Regions from separate parts of the Homo sapiens genome. Here all the other regions are linked to region 1. The links are contacts of gene promoters, found by promoter capture Hi-C in blood cells and fetal thymus (Javierre and others, 2016). All regions are on one chromosome and are shown on one strand. Each heading gives the region's core, a stretch centred on a gene start or on the middle of the fragment in contact. The rest is flanking DNA. Distances are from core to core; before and after follow the strand shown. Region 1 holds the start of SOX17 (SRY-box transcription factor 17). Region 2 has its middle 89 kb from the start of RNU105C. Region 3 has its middle 59 kb from the start of RNU105C. Region 4 has its middle 68 kb from the start of MRPL15. Region 5 has its middle 84 kb from the start of MRPL15.

Region 1 (2,700 bases), core at 201-2,700:
GACGGTCTTGTTGTTGTAGTATCACACTCAAAGCAGCAGCATTTTACTTCTCAGATTCCAGGTGTAAGCTCTACTTTTTTATCACGCCTTCATAATAAAGAAAATCTGTTCTGGAGATTCGTATATTGATTTCTTTGCAAAGTTATCTCTAATTATGCAGGAATGGCTGTTAGTTGCCCTCAAAAACCAACACAAATACACAAACACAACAGCCTGGCTTAGTGATTATTAAGAGCTGCAAGTCTGAAGGCGGACTGCTGGGTGTGAATTCCACCTTCTCAACGCTGTAGTCTCCAGCAAGTTCCTTAACTTCTCTGCCTCCGTTTCCTTTCCTGTAAGATAGAGTCTACCTCAGGGTTAATATGAGGATATGCTTCTTTGCTAATGCTGGAGGGCGCTAGGAATAGCAGTGGCAGGCTGTGTCATTTCTCAGTGTTGTATAACGGCTTGTTTTAAAAGTCCCACTGAAAACTTTTTTTTTTTCCAGATCGAAACACAAGTTTAATAGTCATTCAGATTTCATTCCAGTCTAAAGAAACTTATAGAAATCTAATTATCTGCCAGAATAACCGCTTTAAACTGACTGTAAGAACCACAGTTACTTTGCAGCTAAAACAGATTGTTCTCTTCCCCCAAACAAACTCGGACATTTAGACAAATATTGCTGCTGTCTTTACATTTTAGAAATCAGTATTAAGGCTCACCTGTTACTGAACACATACGAGAAACAGTTTTGTTATGCGTATCTTATATACATCATGTATACATTTTCGTACTTTCACATGATGTGTATAATAAGATACACATAAAAACTGGTTGGCTTGTCATGAGTAAATGCTTTATTCTTTAGAGTGAAGGAATATTGGATACAGAACGTCGTTCCATATTTAATCTTGCTTTAGAAAATTAGGATTTATCTTGGACACAGCATTTTGAATATAACACAGGCAAGTTGAGTCCTGGGGGAAAAATTGTATTTTTAAATTTATTATCAACGGTGTCTTTCGCATTTGAGAAAACACATTTGAAGATGCCCATGCAGTTCCTTGGAAGTAAACTAGGTCACCCACCACTGAAACACCCTCGGCTTCTGCAAAAAGATGTGCTTTAAAGAGAATAGAATGGACGCTCGGTATGTTCATCTAAACGACCTTGGGCAAGTACGTCGATTCCAAGGTACAATCAGCCCTCCCAGACGGCTTTTCGAGTCTCCCTAACCCCGGTGGGAGAGGACGCGGCGCCAGAGCCCAGCTCCGGCTAGTTTTCCCGGGGGCAGGTGTAGCCTTGGGCGCGGGGCCGGGGGAGGGGCAAGGGGCGGGCGTGGGGTTGGACTGGGACGTGGGACTCGGACCACGGCCTGGGCGTGGGCCTAACGACGCGGGACCGGCCCGCCCTCGCCGCTCCATTGGCCACATCTGTGCAGAAAAGGCCCCGCGGCCCAGGGGCGCCCGCAGTGTCACTAGGCCGGCTGGGGGCCCTGGGTACGCTGTAGACCAGACCGCGACAGGCCAGAACACGGGCGGCGGCTTCGGGCCGGGAGACCCGCGCAGCCCTCGGGGCATCTCAGTGCCTCACTCCCCACCCCCTCCCCCGGGTCGGGGGAGGCGGCGCGTCCGGCGGAGGGTTGAGGGGAGCGGGGCAGGCCTGGAGCGCCATGAGCAGCCCGGATGCGGGATACGCCAGTGACGACCAGAGCCAGACCCAGAGCGCGCTGCCCGCGGTGATGGCCGGGCTGGGCCCCTGCCCCTGGGCCGAGTCGCTGAGCCCCATCGGGGACATGAAGGTGAAGGGCGAGGCGCCGGCGAACAGCGGAGCACCGGCCGGGGCCGCGGGCCGAGCCAAGGGCGAGTCCCGTATCCGGCGGCCGATGAACGCTTTCATGGTGTGGGCTAAGGACGAGCGCAAGCGGCTGGCGCAGCAGAATCCAGACCTGCACAACGCCGAGTTGAGCAAGATGCTGGGTGAGTCCGAGTCGCAGACCCAGGCGGCCGGGCGCGCTGGCGCGAATCGCTAGGCCGATTTCTTAAACCCCAAACTGTTCTTTGCGAGCCTGACGCCCAAAACCAGGGGTGTGTAGCGGCCACGTCCTTTCTTAAGGCTCTGGGTTCCCTTCCCGCTTCCCGCCCTCCGACCCTCCAAAGCAGCTTTCCGCCTTGCTCTCCGGCTCCCGGATTCCCCAGGTGGCCGGGGGCGCGGGTCCAACGGCTCTGGGAAGGCGACTTCCCGGCACCTCCGGGCGGCGCGAGAGCACCCTTGGCCCTGAACTGGGCCGGTTGTGTCCATCCCTCGACCCCTTCCCTAGTTAGGTGTCCTTTTCTGTTTTTCGAACGACCGGGTGATGGGTGAGCGGAAAGCCGCTTCCAGGAGACCAAAAGAAAGGGGTGCCTTTAGAGGACGGGTGTTCCCCAAGGGCTCGGACTCAGGAGTCCCAGATCTCCCTCTTTAACTTCACCCCGGTTGCGCAATTCAAAGTCTGAGGGGGGAGGTGCGTCCAGGTGGGGCCAGGTGGGGCCTGGAGCGGGAGCGCAGCCGATAAGCCCTGCGCCCCTCTCCCCCTTCCTTCCACTGTGCAGGCAAGTCGTGGAAGGCGCTGACGCTGGCGGAGAAGCGGCCCTTCGTGGAGGAGGCAGAGCGGCTGCGCGTGCAGCACATGCAGGACCACCCCAACTACAAGTACCGGCCGCGGCGGCGCAAGCAGGT
Region 2 (2,700 bases), core at 180-2,679, 220 kb before region 1:
AGGAAAAAGAATGTGTTATTTAACAAATATGTTCTTTCCTTTTTATAGTAACCTTGTCGAGGAGGAATTTGTATTGATGAGTACATTGAGGCAACAGTGAAGTTCATATTTGAAGAGTGTTTCATCTGATTTTAAAACTTGATCATATCCTTCCATATTATACAGCTATTCAGGATGTGTGCTGATATAGTCATAGAGAGATCAAACCCAGAAGAGAGATCAAGGGTTGCAGAGGGAAGAAAATATTGTGTGAAGTCAAGCTCTGAGCATTGCAGTACCTTGCTCAGAAGTACCGGCTTGAGTCCTGAGCTCTTTCTCTGCCATAGTCACTGGCGAAAGGTAACTGCTTTGTTGTGTAGATTTGGGCAGTCCTTGGCAAGCCTGGTAAGACTCACACACACACACACACACACACACACACACACACAGACACAAGCAGCCAAGGTGTCCTTCTGGAAAGCCGCGGTTTGGAGGCCTACATCAATTCAGTTCCTCCCTGAAGTCTTTTCCCCCAACAGGTGTGCCCACTGCTGAGTTAGTGCTGGTTGAAGTGCACTAAAGACCTGCTTGGGTCAGAGATCTGTTTCTGCACCCAGGGATTCTAATCCATAGGTTACCTTTTTTGCCCATTCTCAAATAGCTTTCCTTTATAACCCTATCACAGTTATTACTTTATAAGTTCTTGAGCAATTATTTACATTTTGCATCCATTCTCTCCTGTATCCCAGGCTGGGGCAGGACCTTTGTGGGGTTTGCTCTCCATTACTTCTCGGTGTTGTGAAGGGACCTCAGACCATGTGGCCACACACAGCTCTTGGGTTCTTTGAGGCAGATGCTGGTACCACCCAGAAGTCTGAGGTGTGAGGGCTCCTGCCCCAGCCCCACTCCACTTCCAGATTGTGAGGGAAGGACCCTTAGCCAGAGTGTCTCCCATGTAGACGTTAAGCAAAGCAAGCTCCAGATCTCTGGCCTCAGCTGGCCTGAGAAGACTACTCAAGGGAGACAGCACATTCTGAGGATCTGCATCAGGGAATGGCAGACTAAGCTGTGGGCCAAATTCTTATAAATGAAATGTTGGAACATTTGGGTGTTGCCTGTCACATCTTTCCTGACATACTGGCAGAGTTGGGTGGTTGCAATAGAGACTGTGTGGTCCACAAAGCCTAAAATATTTGCTTTCTGGCCTTTACTGCAAAAGTCAGCCAACCCCTGATCTAGAGCCTAACTTGGAATCTGCTTGTTGACATGAAGCATTCAGGAATCCATCTAAAGCAATGGGGAGGGGAGAACAGAGCAGAGAAGGAGCCTCAGGGGCCATTCTGAAGGGTGCTGGGGACAAGGTTTACTGTTATTCCCTGTTTGTGCAAGGATGGGCCATGTCTAAACCTTAAAAAAAATTTTTATTGTGGTAAAACATACATAACACAAAATTTACCATTTTAACCATTTTCAAGTGTACAGGACAGTGGCATCAAGTACATTCACGTTGTATGCAACCATTACCACCACCACTGGCTTCCAGAACTATTTTCTCTTCTCAAACTGAGAACTTTGTGAACCATTTCTCCTGTCTTTTTTTTTTTTTTTTTTTTTTTTTTTTTTGAGACAGTCTTGCTCTGTCACCCAGGCTGGAGTGCAGTGGCGCATTCTCAACTCGTTGCAACCTCTGCCTCCCAGGTTCAAGCAATCCTCCCACCTCAGCCTCCCAAGTAGCTGGGATTACAGGCATGTGCCACCACACCCGGCTAATTTTTGTATTTTTAGTAGAGACAGGGTTTCACCATGTTGGCCAGGTTGATGTTGGAACTCCTGACCTCAGGGGATCCACCTGTCTTGGCCTCCCAAAGTGCTGGGATTACAGGCATGAGCCACCACACCAGGCCGATTTCTCCTGTCTTCACTGCCTTTATTCTTACCAGTAAGAGCTCACTTTTAGGATTCATCATGATAATTAATAAGTTGCTGGTGTTGGCAATGAGTGTCCATTTTTGACACTCAGGCTGCAGAGGTGCAAATCTTTGGTGCTGACTGCGCTGTGCCTGACAGGAGGCTTATGATGCCGCCTGGGGCGCTGCGTGGATGTGCAGTGCCCAGTTGGTCTGGAGCAAGCACTCTGAATGACACATGGGTGGATGAAAGCTGACATGAACATTTGAGTACTGCTCTTGATAATGATGAGAACCATTGTTTCAAACTGGACATTGCCTACGGGTGCCCCAAAGTCCTGCTCTCCTAGAATTTCCACGCAGGGTCCCTGTTCCTCTCTTCTTCCCTTCCTGGCTTCCTTGATAGCTGGGCAGTGCTCAGATTTCCACCAGGGCTGTCTGGTGCTGGGTAGATGGAGTTCCATTTGGGTGAATGACTCTGGGGGAGGCCCTTGTTCTCCTGTTCAGATGCACCATTGAGCAGTTGCCAGAATTTGCACTCTGTTGACACTCAGGATGGGGCTGAATTGTTGCTGTCTCCTCTATTCCTTCCCCCTACATCTGGCCAGAGCCCAACCGTGGGGGTGGGAGAAGGAAGTGAGAAGAACTGGTGTGTGTTTTTTTACATTGGGGATGAGTATGGGAGCATGGATGGGTAAGTGGATTCATGGTTGGAGGAAGTGAAATAGGAACTACTTCGCCTTTCCCCCAGGCTGAAAAGGGCTTTGAAGATCAGGATGGAGGCACTCACTGGGCAGGATGGAGAGACATGGAC
Region 3 (2,700 bases), core at 166-2,665, 190 kb before region 1:
CTGGGCAACATACCAAGACCACATCTCTACAAAAAATTAGCTGGGCGTGGTGGCATGCAGCTGTAGTCCCAGCTACTCAGGAGGCTGAGGTGGGAGGATCGCTTGAGGTTGCCATGAGCTATGATCATGCCACTGCCCTCCAGCCTGGGTGATAGAGTGAGATCCTGTCTCTCTCTGTCTCTCTTTTTTGTTTAAAAGAAGTTGGCCTGGCACGGTGGCTCATGCCTGTAATCCCAGCACTTTGGGAGGCCGAGGCGAGAGGATCACCTGAGGTTGGGAGTTCGAGACCAGCCTGACCAACATGGAGAAACCCTGTCTCTACTAAAAATACAAAATTAGCAGGGCATGGTGGCGCATGCCTGTAATCCCAGCTACTCGGGAGGCTGAGGCAGGTGAATCGCTTGAACCCAGGAGGCAGAGGTTGCAGTGAGCCGAGATTGTGCCATTGCGCTCCAGCCTGGGCAACAAGAGTGAAACTCTGTCACAAAAAAAAAAAAAAAAAAAAGAAGAAGTTATATTTTGCTATAATGTCAATTGCCCCCTCTATCCATTAGGATTTAAGCATGATTAAGTTTTTCCCAACTTAAAAAAAAAACAACAAGAATCCCTCTCCTGTTCCTCTCTACCCCTGCTGCATGCTGTCTTCACTTCTCTTATCTAAGCCTCAACTCAGAGGCTTCTCCACTCCTTGGAATTGAATAATGACCTCTTTCTTGCCAAATTCATGGTACACTTTTCCTTCTTCCCTTGCTACACTCCTGTGGCATTTAACTTGGGTATTAATTCACTCCTTTTTGGCTGAATCTCTCTCTCAGTGGCCCCTGAACACTGCTGGTCCTCTGAACTCTCAATAAACTCTTTTCAGCCTCCTCAGAAGCCTGTCTTCCACTGCACATCCCTGCAAACTTTCTCTTCTGCCCTTCCTGGGGTCTCTGCAGGCTACACAGTCTCTGGGAGCGGGGAGGGTCATCTACTTCAAGCCCAAGCTCTTTAAATTGTCTCTGTGATGGACAGTGCCGGGGGAAAAGAGTCTGTAGGAACCCCTCTCAGTTGAGTCCCTTTCTGGCTCTCAGTGTAAGACAAACTCCTGGCCCAAGGTCATGGCCCTTCCCAAGGGAAGCCACATCCCATGACCTGTTTGAAGGCCCAATTTCTCACCTCAATTCAGGTCAATTCTGAAGGGCCATCTCCACCCACAAAGCTCCCTTTGAGATCAGGGGAAGCCTTTGTTGTGACTGGATCATGGTTCAGCTTCTTCACGTGCCTGAGCTGGCTTCCTTCATTTTCCCACGTGTTGACCCTAAGAGCTTCTCCATGGACAACAACCTCCATCTCGGAATCTTCTTCCCAGAAACTACCTGTGGCCTCTATATGCTGAAGGTCTCCATCTTTACATTTGCAGCCTGAATTTCTTTCCTGAAACCCAGATCCCAACCTCTGTTGTTTGTTGGATATCATTATTTGGGTGTTAAATAGGTTCTTCAAACTCCACAGGTCCCAACCTATGTTCATGTCTTCCTTTCCAGTCCATTCTCTTCTCGGTGGGCTCCTTCTCTCTTTTTTTCAATTTTTTTATTTTTGAGACGGAGTTTTGCTCTTGTCGCCCAGGCTGGAGTGCAGTGGTGCAATCTCGGCTCACTGCAACCTCTGCCTCCCGGGTTCAAGCAATTCTCCTGCCTCAGTCTCCTGATTAGCTAGGATTACAGGTGCCTGCCACCACGCCTGGCTAATTTTTGTATTTTTAGTAGAGACGGGGTTGCACCATGTTGGCCAGGCTGGTCTCGAACTCCTGACCTCAGGTTATCCATCTGCCTCGGCCTCCCAAAGTGCTGGGATTACAGGTGTGAGCCACGGTGCCCGGCCTTTCTCTTAATAAAGTGGTTCAAGCCAGATACCTAGAAGTTACCCTTGGTCTTTTCCTCGCTGTTCCCATTCAATCCATCACCAAGTCTTGTTGATTCCTCATTTCCACTTCCTTGTGATAAATATTTCCCAGATGTATCTAGTCTTCCATTCTCTTTGCTGTTACCTTATCTCATGTCTCCACCATCACTTATTCCAATTTTCTCCTTTGCCTCCAACTGCCTCCTGAGTAATTTCCTTGGAATGTAAGTATTTTCATGCCGTTGCTCTGCTTAAACCTTTCAAGGGATTCCTATCGCCCTTCTGTCAAGTCCAAAGTTCTTGGCCAGGCATGGAGATTCGTGATTTGTCATTAGGCCCTTGCTAACCTGCATGGCCTCCCTCCTATCTTGCCATTGCAGCGCTGGTCCCCAGGACTAGCCATGTAAGTCTTTGAGGAGTGATCAAAAAAGTCATTAGCTGCAAAAGCCTTTTTTTATAGATGTTTTTTCTTTCTATCTGTTACTTTCTTCTCTCTCTCTCTCTTTTTTTTTTTTTTTGGTTATCCTTCCTACTAAACTGTATGTTCCCTGAAGGGTATAGAAAGCATACTGAGTGAGTGCTTGTAGAATGGATAAAAAAAAGTGTGAAAAGTGAGATTTGAATCAGTGAAAAATGAATGGAATTTGTAAGCAATAGAATACACTGAAAACATCCCAGGGGTCTAATGAGTGGGCTTAAATCCTGTGTAGGGATTTGGATTGCAGAAGAGAAAGAAAGTATACATGTGACTCTAAGAAGCCAGTGCATTTGGGAACCAGGCAAAAAAAAGATCTTGCTTCCCCCATGATGAGGACA
Region 4 (2,700 bases), core at 2-2,501, 260 kb before region 1:
TGTGACGGGGCAATAGTGGCATTGGTTGTTAATATCCTCAGTATAAAGGGCTTTTGTGGTCCTCCTGTTGTTTTCTTCTCAATGAGGGGACTTAGCTGAGGGGATCTCTCTTGGTGTTGGGTCTGACATAGCCTACAAGCATCTGCAGTGGCACTGGATTACAGGTGCAAGTGCTTTAAGCAGTTGTGGGGTTGTGGTCTTCGGTTCACAGTCTCATGAACTTATCATGGCACCTGGGTCTTGGGGTGCAGGTTTGCTCTTTGTGGCAGGGTTAGATGTAGGTTGCCCACAGAGCCAGGATCTGTGACTCTATGGCACCCCCTAGTAGCTCAGGCCCAGGGGTGGAATTGTTGCTGAGATTATACCCCTGGGGGGAGGGCACAACCCTGGCCTGAGTTTGGGGAGGAAGGAATGAATGCTTTAGAGGTTTGAGCCTGGGAAGCAGGGTATGGCTGCAATTTGGGAAGCTGAGCCAGTAGGGCTCAGTGATAACTCAGGTCCCATTGGATGAGGTACTATGTAGTAGTGACTCTAGGCCTTGAGATGGTCAGGGTTGGGAGTATCTCAGACTCAGTGAGGGCAAGTGCAGTGGCAGTAAGTACCCCAGAATGGCAGAGCACAGCTATCATTTGGGCCCTGAGGAGTAGGGCAGAAGAAAGCACAGTGATGAGTCTACTCCCCAGGAAGAGGGGTGTTTCAGCAGCTAAGACTTTAGTAGGCTAGTCCAGCTCCAGGGAAGCAGAATACTAGATCCGTTTGGCCTGTAGGGCTGAGTGTCTCAGCTCAGCCATTGCTCCATTTCTCTGGGACACCGGATACTATTTCAGCTCAACCTTGGGATGTGGAGCTGCTCAGCTCATCCAGGGCACCAGTTCCTTAGGGGGCAATGTGCTACTTCAGCTCAGGCCTGGAAAGGCAGGACTGTTCTGGGTGGCCCAGGAACCATTTCCCTGGAATGCAGGATGCCCTGCGGCTTAGGTACTGGTGTGTGTGTGACTGCTCTGGGTGGTCAGGGCACCACTTTCTAGGATGCAGGGTGCTGCTTCAACTTAGGTACCAGAGAAGTATGAGTGCCATACATGTACAAGGTAGTCTTTTCCCAGGAGACAGGGTACCACTTCAGCTCTGACCTGAGGGGCTGGGGAGGAGTAGGTGGAGGACCTTTGCCTCTGCTTGGTTCCGTAGGGAAGGGTGTAATAGCTGCTCACAGCTGAGCTTGGGGATGTTGGGCCACTGGGCTGGAGTAGCTCAGTGGTGGCTTAGCCTCAAGGATGAAGGCGAGCCAAGGGTACTCACTTCCTGGACAAGACATTCTCCATCCATAGTTTCAAATCCAAGATGGCACAGCACAGTAGTTTTGCAGGCCCCAGGAGGTGGAGCACAGTGTTGGTGCCTTCTCTAGTGGGACCACAGCTATGTGGTCTCCAGGCAGTTCCCTCACTGGGCTTAGTTCCTGTGAGGACTGCAGGGGACCCCAGCGGTGAGGCCTGTAGGTGTCCAAGGTGTTCATGCAGGTTGCTGGGATCCTCTTTCTTACCTCATTGCCAAAGGAGAAGGTCTCTCCTCATTCCCAGCCCATCCTGGTTAGGGAATGGGATGGTGGAGGCTCAGTGTTTCCTTTGGTTCTCTATGTGGCCATTCCAATTTTCTGTGCTCACCCGGATTTCTATTACTCCTCTGATGCACAATGACACTCTCCTTCAGTTATTTTTATTGCAATGTTATCGTTTATTCATTGTTCTGGATGTTTTTGTGAGGGGGACAAGCACTAAAGGCTTCTGGTCAGCCATCTTGCTCCATTGAACCATTCTTGCTTTCCGAGATTAAATCCCACTTAGTCATGGTGTTTAATCCTTTTAATATGCTGTTGAATTTGGTTTGCTAATTTTTTTTTTGAGGATTTTTGCATTAATATTCACAAGGGTTATTACCCTACAGTTTTCTTTTTTTGGCAACATCTTTGTCTGGCTTCAGTATCAGGGTCATGCTGGCCTCAGAGAATGACTTAAGAAGTATTACCTCCTCTTCAAGTTTTTGGAAGAGTTTCAGAAGGATTGGTGTTAATTCATTGTTAAGTATTTGGTATAGTCCAGGCATGGTGGCTAATGATTGTAATCTCAGCATTTTGAGAGGCTAAGGTAGGAGGATCACCTGAGCTCAGGAGTTCAAGACCAGCCTGGGCAATGTAGGGAGTCACTATCTCTACAAAAAAATTTTTAAAAAATATTAGCTGGGCATGGTGGCATGTATCTGTAGTCCTAGCTACTTGGGAGGCTTAAGTGGGAGGATTGCTGGGGCCCAGGAAGTAAAGGCAGCAGTGAGCTGTGATCACACCACTGCACTCCAGCCTGGGTGACAGAGCAAGACCCTATCTCAGGAAAAAAAAAAAGCATTTGGTGTAATTCACCAGTAAAGCCATCTGTTCCTCAGCTTTTTGTTGTTGATATTGTTGAGAGGTTTTGATTATTGATTCAATCTCCTTACTAGTTGTGTCTATTCAGATTTTCTAATTATTTATCAGTCAATTTTGATAGATCATGTGTTTTCAGGAATTTGTCCATGTCATCCAGGTTATCCAGTTTTGAAGAATATGCTTGTTTAGTATAGCTTTTAAAGATAGTGATGAATTACATATGACATAAAATTTACCATCTTACTCATATATATATATATATATATATATTTTTTTTTTTTTTTTTT
Region 5 (2,700 bases), core at 201-2,700, 240 kb before region 1:
CAAGAGTGGAACCGAAGTTTCTCAACTTCTAGTAAAATGCCGACAGCAGACCCAGTGGGCCAATGGCATCACATTTAAGAGGAAGGATTTAGGGACAGGACTTCTGGGTTGCGGTCCCCCTTGGTCACCTCCCTTAGCTCTGTGGGCCTTAAATATCCCATATGTGAATTGGACAGCACCACCACTTCTGCTGCGCCAGCCTCCCAGGGTCCCTCGAGGTGCAGAGGGACTCGGTGAAGAGGTTGGCTAACTGCAAGAACCCTGCAGAAATGCTACTAGCCTTTTCTATCTGAGCACTAGTGTTTATCAGTTGGTGTGAAGACGAAAACGTGGCTAATGGGCCCTCAGGAGAGGCAATTTTGGGGCAAAATGGAGCAGAAGGAGTTTCTTACCATGTCCTCAGATTTATACTCGTCAGACTTCAACTGCTTGAGATAAAATTCAGGGCATAGGTTGGATCTATTGAGGCCAGTCCTGGGAGGTGCTTGGTGTTCCTGACCTTTCTCTTGGCACTGGGGTTGTGGATGGTACACTTTTAGCCCGAAGTTCTCAGAAGCAGCCTGCATTATCCATTAGGGCCTGTCCATCCAGTTCAAGTTCACAGTGATAAATCTCACAGCCCCTGAGGGTCCTCACAAAGGTGGGTGTGGTGTGCTGATAGCAGGCATGATTAAGTGCTTTCCTGTGTCAAATATAGCTGTAATATACTACAAACAGGCAGTCAGGCTTTATACAAACTGATCTGGCTGCTATCAGCTGCTCTGACATTTTATACTAATACTTAAAATAAATCTAGAAACAGGAAAGAAAGTACAGAATTATTGTTTTAAGCAGCCTGTGAGAGCTTATCTTCAAAGTGGCAGAGGTTCTATTGTATTTAGAGAAACTGCTCACTCCTTGGGCATGAAGTTTGTTGCAGGGACTCTGGGCTGCCTTGAGCAGTTTCCCACGTGAGTGCTGAGGGCTGTCTCCAGGCAGAGCACTCACCCCTGCCCAGGGGCTCTGTCCCTGCTCCTTGCTCCTTGCTCCAGGGAAGACCTTCCAGTGCACCTGAAGCCCCAAACACACTTTAAGAGTTAATTTAGAATTCCCCTTTAAAACAAACAAAAACATCACATTTTCCCTTGTCAATGTTGCTTTTGCCTTCGCATGTGGTGTCTCTGCCCTTGTATGTTTCACAGTTGAAAACGAAAGGAGGCTCCTGACTTTCTGGAGTTTCTTTCTGGACTGGGAGACCAAGGGAGAGGTGCCCATGAAATAGAGATCTAAGACTTTTAAAAAGAACGTGCTGGACGTGGTAGCTCATGCCTGTAATCCCAGCACTTTGGGAGGCCGAGGTGGGCAGACCACCTGAGGTCAGGAGTTTGAGACCAGCCTGACCAATATGATGAAACCCCCCCATCTCTACTAAAAATACAAAAATTAGCTGGGTGTGGTGGTACGCACCTGTAATCCCAGCTACTTGGGAGGCTGAGACAGGAGAATCGCTTAAACCCGGGAGGCGGAGGTTGCAGTGAGCTGAGATCATGCCACTGCACTCCAGCCTGGGCGACAGAGCGAGATTCTGTCTCAAAAAAAAAAAAAAACAAAAAAAAAACACAGAAATCACTGAGCTCCTCTAGGAATTCTCAATTCTGGCAACACCTTGGTCACTCGGGGGGCTTTTTAAAAATACTGATGCCCAAGATCTACCACCAGGGTCCAGCTTAATTGTTCTAGAATTTTTGAGGGGTGAGGATTGGGGTATTGGTATGTTTATAAAACTCCCTAGGTGATTCTAATGGGCAGCAGAGTGGAGAAACAGCCATTTATTCATATGGTTCATTAGACAGATGGCAGGAAGGAGTGGCTGCCGCCTCCCACAGAGTGTGAGGACCGGACCAGGGCTCTCCAGCTCCCTTTCAGGAATCTGCATTAGACACTATGATTTATTGGTGCTCTAACCGAGATAAATCTAAGAAGGCACTGGATGCTAAGTACTTAGTGCTACTTGCAGTCACGGTTGGTTTCTTCCTCAGCTTTATCTCATAATTTAAATTAGTTTTTTTCTACCAATGTAATCAAAGGATCTTATTTTTTTCTGTCATTTCTGTAAAATGCCTTTATTTCTTGGATCCTCCTTCTTTACTCAAAACAATTTTGTGTAGATTTGAGTCATGAAAGACTTTAGAAAGATTGACGCTCACGTTCACTTTGTAAAACTGAACCAACAATTAAAAATGACCCAGCTGGGATAGCACAGAGAACTGAGTTAAATTGGTGGCTGCCTTAAGTGCCACTTCTGGTGTTGTTTGTAAGAATGAGGAAGCCAGTTACTCCCTCTGCTCTGATGCCTGCATTTTTGGTGGATGTTTTCAAAACATTTTAAACCAACTACACAATACATGCAGTACATGATTATGGAGATTATATATTTGGAATTTTCTGGGGTAGTCTTATTTTATTTTATTTTTCAGACAGAGTGTCACTGTGTTGCCCAGGCTGGAGTGCAGTGGCATGATCTCGGCTCACTGCAACCTCTGCCTCCCGGGTTCAAGCGATCCTCCTGCCTTAGTCTCCCGAGTAGCTGGGATTACAGGCATGCTCCAGCGTGCCTAGCTAATTTTTGTATTTTTAGTAGAGACGGGGTTTCACCATATTGGCCAGGCTGATCTCGAACTTCTGACCTCAGGTGGTCTGTCTGCCTCAGCTTCCTAAAGT

Evidence for each region. Contacts are between HindIII fragments. The CHiCAGO score rates a contact against its expected background, and 5 or more counts as called.
Region 2: a contact is called between a fragment that was not itself captured here and the fragment with the promoter of SOX17 in region 1, in 1 of 17 cell types (endothelial precursors). The highest score is 6.1, in endothelial precursors.
Region 3: a contact is called between a fragment that was not itself captured here and the fragment with the promoter of SOX17 in region 1, in 1 of 17 cell types (endothelial precursors). The highest score is 7.0, in endothelial precursors.
Region 4: a fragment that was not itself captured here is called in contact with the fragment with the promoter of SOX17 in region 1 in 1 of 17 cell types (endothelial precursors); the score reaches 6.0 in endothelial precursors.
Region 5: a fragment that was not itself captured here is called in contact with the fragment with the promoter of SOX17 in region 1 in 2 of 17 cell types (endothelial precursors and megakaryocytes); the score reaches 9.5 in endothelial precursors.

Annotation. Positions count from the first base shown.
Region 1 is chr8:54,456,485-54,459,184 of GRCh38, forward strand. SOX17 (SRY-box transcription factor 17) reads left to right here and starts at 1,451. Exons shown (of 2, transcript NM_022454.4): 1 at 1,451-1,961; 2 at 2,574-2,700. The coding sequence starts at 1,655. The HindIII fragment of the contact is 4,543 bases long and covers 1-2,700 here.
Region 2 is chr8:54,240,578-54,243,277 of GRCh38, forward strand. No RefSeq gene overlaps it. Among named protein-coding and RNA genes, the nearest start is that of RNU105C, 89 kb to the right of the region's middle. The HindIII fragment of the contact is 6,637 bases long and covers 1-2,700 here.
Region 3 is chr8:54,270,701-54,273,400 of GRCh38, forward strand. No RefSeq gene overlaps it. Among named protein-coding and RNA genes, the nearest start is that of RNU105C, 59 kb to the right of the region's middle. The HindIII fragment of the contact is 3,110 bases long and covers 1-2,700 here.
Region 4 is chr8:54,201,462-54,204,161 of GRCh38, forward strand. No RefSeq gene overlaps it. Among named protein-coding and RNA genes, the nearest start is that of MRPL15, 68 kb to the left of the region's middle. The HindIII fragment of the contact is 6,346 bases long and covers 1-2,700 here.
Region 5 is chr8:54,218,098-54,220,797 of GRCh38, forward strand. No RefSeq gene overlaps it. Among named protein-coding and RNA genes, the nearest start is that of MRPL15, 84 kb to the left of the region's middle. The HindIII fragment of the contact is 3,499 bases long and covers 1-2,700 here.